Linked DNA regions of Homo sapiens: region 2 is linked to region 1. The links are contacts of gene promoters, found by promoter capture Hi-C in human tissues and cell types (Jung and others, 2019). All regions are on one chromosome and are shown on one strand. The core of a region is centred on a gene start or on the middle of the fragment in contact, and the rest is flanking DNA. Distances in the headings are between cores, read along the strand shown.

What was found. Contacts are between HindIII fragments. The study calls those that stand out against the background at their distance.
Region 2: a fragment that was not itself captured here is called in contact with the fragment with the promoter of TRIM13 in region 1 in 2 of the 25 tissues and cell types used here (dorsolateral prefrontal cortex and spleen).

Annotation. Positions count from the first base shown.
Region 1 is chr13:49,995,739-49,998,438 of GRCh38, reverse strand. TRIM13 (tripartite motif containing 13) reads right to left here and starts at 1,397. Exons shown (of 2, transcript NM_213590.3): 1 at 676-1,397. DLEU2 (deleted in lymphocytic leukemia 2) reads left to right here. Exons shown (of 14, transcript NR_152566.1): 11 at 1,020-1,365. It overlaps MIR3613 (microRNA 3613), which reads left to right and starts at 1,938; the gene lies at 1,938-2,024. RefSeq lists silencers at 1,661-1,790, 2,381-2,430 and an enhancer at 1,971-2,100. The HindIII fragment of the contact is 11,924 bases long and covers 1-2,700 here.
Region 2 is chr13:50,527,168-50,529,867 of GRCh38, reverse strand. DLEU1 (deleted in lymphocytic leukemia 1) reads right to left here. Exons shown (of 7, transcript NR_109974.1): 6 at 1,804-2,002; 7 at 1,225-1,688. It overlaps DLEU1-AS1 (DLEU1 antisense RNA 1), which reads left to right and starts at 2,419. Exons shown (of 3, transcript NR_125753.1): 1 at 2,419-2,589. RefSeq lists enhancers at 1-207, 208-896, 1-1,036. The HindIII fragment of the contact is 3,495 bases long and covers 1-2,700 here.

The DNA.
Region 1 (2,700 bases), core at 148-2,647:
GCAAGGCAAAACAAATATTACATAAGGTATCAGGTACAAAGCAGTGTCATGAAAATGAGCATATCTGAACAAAAGCTGTGACAGAATTAAGGCCAGATAACCTATCATAAATGTATAGAATGAACAGAACAGCCCGGTTTTAGGAAAGGACTTCCCAGGGAGGTTTAGTAAGCCAGCTGGGAGAAAGGAAAAAAAACGTATTTTTAGGGAGGGATAGGGACGCTCCCATTGTGCAAGAAGGAAGTATAGCCGGTTAACAGCTCCATCAAGTTCTACTAGAAGGAGTGCCTATGTAAATGAAATTCTGCTTTTAAAGTGCCTATTATATAAAGGTCTCTAGAAAACTCAAGCCCTGTTCTACAAGCCCTAGCAGCCTGACAATTCACTAAGCATAGGAGAAGGGAAAAAAAAGTAGGAAAAAAGTGTGGAAGCCCCTTTCTTCCTTTGTAATATGAATGTTTGGCTATATTTAAGATAAATACCACATAAATAATTGCTAAACGTGAATTCTGTTTTTCTAAGTTTTAACAAAATATGCAAAGAACAAAGACCACCAATGAAAGTGGATGGGAACATACGTATTCTACACACAGTTCCATTTTGGAAGGTTCTAGGGCCTATTGAAATTGGGTGTTTAAAAAAAAAAGATAACACAGGAAAATTATTGTAGTTTACCTCTGTCTCCTACAAGCTGATGTATTTGGCAGGGTTACTATTTCCCAGGGCAAAGCAGGTCTTTTTTTTCACGTTTTGACTAACGAACTAGAGGCTACTGCAAAGAAAGAAGAAAAAGAACAGTATTAACGCATTTATTTGCACAGCACCCCAATCTTGACCCTCAATTTTTTCAATCGCCCCCACAAATAAAGCCCGGCTGTTTAGACCTGGTGAACCGCCAGGAGCCTGGAGCTCTTTGTATTAAGCAGCTTCTCGGTTAGGGCGCCCTCCCCCGGCGCCATGCAACCAAACGCTGGCGGCGCGCTGTAACCTAAGGCCCACACCCGTCTTTTCTTTTCTAGGGGATGTGGAGACGCTGGTAGCGGGGCCAGGAAGGCTCCGGACGGAGCAGGTTTTCTGGACCACAGACACACTGCCCCGGCGCCCTCCGCAGGCCGCTCCTCCCCAGGCCCATGACAGTGCCCCGCTGGTTTCTGCCGCGCTGCCGGACTGGAGCTCAGACGGCCTTCGCCAGCCCCCCCAACCCACGCAGATCCCTGCTGACCTGGGCAACTCCCCACCCTCGCTGAAGGTTCGAGGACCACCCCGCTTTCCCGAGAGGAGCCGGGCGGCGGGTACTTATCTCCGACCTCCGGCTAGTGGGAAAGGCCGCGCGACCGCCCGTCCTCCAACTACAGGGACCGCACGGTACGCGCCAAGCACAGCCCCAAAATGGACTCGCGGCTCCGGCTAGCTCCGCCCCCTTCCCTCTCCCGCTTCCCCTTCCCCTCCCGTCCCTTCCCCCTCCCCTCCCGTCCCTTCCCCCTCCCCTCCCGTCCCTTCCCCCCTCCCCCTCCCTTTCCCCTCCCCCTCCCCCTCCCTTTCCCCTCCCCCTCCCCCTCCCTTCCCCGTCGCCCGCCTCCGCCTGCACCTCCGGCCCCGCCTCCCCGTCCCGCTTCGCCTGTGTCCCGCCTCCCCGGCCGCGCCTCGCCTTGGCGGAGGGAGCCGGGTGGTGAGACCGCGTTCCTTCCGGCGTCTCCAACCGCCGCCTGCTCCCGCCGTCCACCCGCGCGGGCCGCCTGGGACGGGGAGGGCCGGGCTGCGGGCTTTTCTCCCTTCCAGAGTCCTGCGCCCGCCCAAAGCCCCCCCGCAGAGGCTGGGCAGCGGCTCCGGGAAGTGGACGCCGTTTGCCCAGACGGTGGGCTCGACTGAAGCGGCGCGGTCCCGGGTGGGGCCGCCCGGGAAGAAAGTCTCCCAGTTAAGCTGCCGTGCAATTAAGATGGTTGGGTTTGGATTGTTGTACTTTTTTTTTTGTTCGTTGCATTTTTAGGAACAAAAAAAAAAGCCCAACCCTTCACACCACTTCATCCGCATCTCAAGACCAGAAGCCGACCCCAGCGGCTTGGGGAAATGGAGCCCCGCACCCCACAAGGGGGAGGGTGGGACGGGCACCTCCGCACTGCGCGGCCTGCGGAGTCACCGATTCGCGTTGGGAGCGCGCCAGGAGCGCCAGGGCTCTAGCCGGGGGCTCCGGGCAAGGCGCAACCAGAAAAGGGTTCAGTATCCCCCATCACCCCCACCCCCAACCGTACCCTCTTTCTTTGCGGGCTTTAGGCAGGACACCAGAGACCCAATTCTATTTAAAATTCTCTTTTAAGAAAAGGAACGCCTGTTTTTGCCTTTGGGGGAAAGGATGAACTTTCAAATTGGCTTTAAATTATCCACCACTAACAGTTACTCAGTCGATAACCTGACTATTCTGACGTCCACCTCCCGTTTGAGGACCTTGCCCAATAGCAAACGTACTAAGCACTTAACCAGTGAACGGTGTGAAGGATGCAAACATGGATGATGAAGGAATGGCTCCTCCAGAATTTACGATCTTGGGAGAAGTGAGGCGAGTATAGAATCTCAGAACACGCTGTAGGATTGAGTTCGATCCCAGTTGAGGAAGTTTGGGTTTGGGGAGGAAATAGGTTATTTTGGAGAAACGGTATTCAAAACCTACCATAAATAGCAGTACAGCCCGTTGACTAATAATGC
Region 2 (2,700 bases), core at 112-2,611, 530 kb before region 1:
AATCAAGACAGAATATTTCCGACACCCTGAGAAATTATCTGTGCCCCTTTGAAGTCAATCTCCTTCCTCTCACCCTCAGCCCCTGGCAATCTCTGATTTATTTCTGTCACTGGATATTCTGCATAGCTTCCAATCTATGTTTTTCAAGCTTCCAATCGGAGTCAAAGCTGGCCAGTAGCAACTAGCACAGAGTCCTCTGCTGCTCTTTTGAAACCACCTTTTCTTTGCTGACAACCAACAGATCAGTCTCCATAGTCAGCAAAGCTGAACTCCAGCTTTAGACACAGGCCAATTCCTCCCGTAAAACTTGGCCTGGCGTCAACTGGGCGGACATGCCCGGACAAGCCTGCTGGGGTAGCCGCGCCCGCAGGAGGGGAGGTCCTTACAACATGGAGCACCAGTTGCACACTGTCCCCTTTTGAGCTCTGTTCTCCTTTTTAGTTTGGAAGTCTGTGCGTATGTGTACATGTGTGTGGGTGCATGCATTGCAGAGCCCCAGTATACTTTGACATGTTTTCTGCATCTACAGTGTGAGTAATACAGTGGAGGGTAGATGAGCCAGCCCCTTCTGAGAAATACAGTAGTCCTCTTTGAACCTCTCCTCCTCCTGTCATCTGATTGCTGGATGGCGTTAGCCTGTGGTGTACTGGTGAGAGCCGGAAGGTCTGGGACTGGATCCCTCCTACTGAGTCAAAATACAACATAAAAACCTTGGGGGAGGATCTGAGGCTGAGAACCAGCTTCAGAAAATTATAAGTTGCCAAAGAAACACAATTTTAAGCATCATGTCTGAAGGAGTTAGGAAGGTTTTTCACTTTTGTCATTTCTGCTAAGGTCCTCTTTCTCCTCTGATACTTCTTTCCCCAGCTTTCTCCACATGATTTGGGCTGCTTTCCTAGTTCCCTTAAATACCGGTGTAAAGAAACCTGTCTGTGGTTTTATGTTACCCCATTGGAGTGTTGCATGTGAATATAGGGCATAAAAGGGGATAAATTGCCTAACTCAATCCACCCTCGAGGCCTGCCACATTAAAAAGATATACCACGGAACTTTCGTCTGCCCTGAAATGATTGGAAATACTGTGAGACTGCAGAGTTTAATGAAAACTCTGAGTCTCAACTTGAAGTAGATAGATAACTCTCTGATCTACTCTTGGGCCTATATATAACATTTTATATTTGTCAAGGCCGCTCAACATTCACGGTTAATAATTAGTCCTGGAAGAATATTTATAGCTTATGTTAATTCTTATCCCGGAGACATGCAAGGTTCAAAATAGGTGGGATAAAAGCACATTTGGGTAGGCTTAAATTCAAACCCACAGGCACTATGTACAGAAAAAGGCACTAGGTGTTTTTTAAATTGACTCAGAAAAAGTTAAAATGGAGAAACTTCTATCTGCTCACTTGGTCCTTCATGGGGAATTCTACCACTTCCCTTGGTCCAGCTCACTCAAGGCCAGTGCCATGACAACTCCTGGGTTGAGAATCACTGATTTAAATGGCATTTGACCACATCTGTCCCCACTTGTGGCTCTCTGCTCTGTAGATTTGCTGACTCACAGAGTCCACCGGCAGAGATGCTGACAGGCATGAACTGGTTGCATGACACTTGGAAGGCATAGCGGGACATCTGCCTCACCAGCTTCCTTCAGGTGTTCCACTGAGCCCCAGCATTCAAATTTCCATCTGTGGGAGAGGAAGGGAAGGGAAGGCTCTGGTCTGTGGTACCGTAGGATTCCAGTGATGCCTCTTAAGCATCCCCCACCATTCTCTGATCGTTTCCCACATGCAAAGTGCCAACCTGGTCGTGCAACAGTGTACACATGTGGTGAACACCAGGCGCCCTCCCATGAGACTTCTGCAGCATTCCAGCACTCCATCCTCCCCCAGCTTCCAGTTTAGGACAGGTCCAGGAGAGGAATGGTGAGGACAGAGTTAAACGCAACTTTTGCTTCATTGTGGGTTCCTTCTTCCTGTCCTCCCGGCCATCAGACCTCCTCCTATAAACAGATGTGTGCTCAGATTAACTACTTTTTGGAAAAAACAAGGAAATGATAATACTAGAAAAACTTTATTGAACTAATGTTTGTCTATGTACCAGGAACTGTGCTAAATACATCACATTTATCTCATTCAATTCTGACAAGAACCCTACACAGACAGGTGTTGCTGCTGTAGATGGGAAAACTGTGGCACAGAGGTGAAAAAGTCTTACCTATACAGATACATTGCATCAAAATTCAAGCCGAGGTTCTGACCCCAAAGCCTGTGCTCCAAACTAGAGTCCTCCTGTGCACATTTCACGTCTGGAATTATTATAAAGCATTTTGCAATGACTAAAATAGGCACATGAATGAAGACGTATCCAGGTCTGCCTGAGAGGAGACTCGAAGCCAAAGCCCAGCTCAGCAAGGCCAGAGAATTTCAGTGTATCCCCGCGGGGCGCTGGAACTTCGTCTGGGTGCATTTGTTTTTATAAGCCTGGGTACTGCAGAGTCATTTAAAAACATGTGCTTGCCAGGGCAGAACATCATCTGATGGCAGCAACCACCTGGTGCTGGCCACGACTGAGGAGGGAACACATCAGGTGAGTGTGGGCCAACCCTTCCTGCACAGAACAGGAGGGCGGGGAGGGGGGGGGATGCTTGATTTTTAGTGGGAAGGATGAGGAAAGCAGTTCTGAAATGTTTTTCACAGA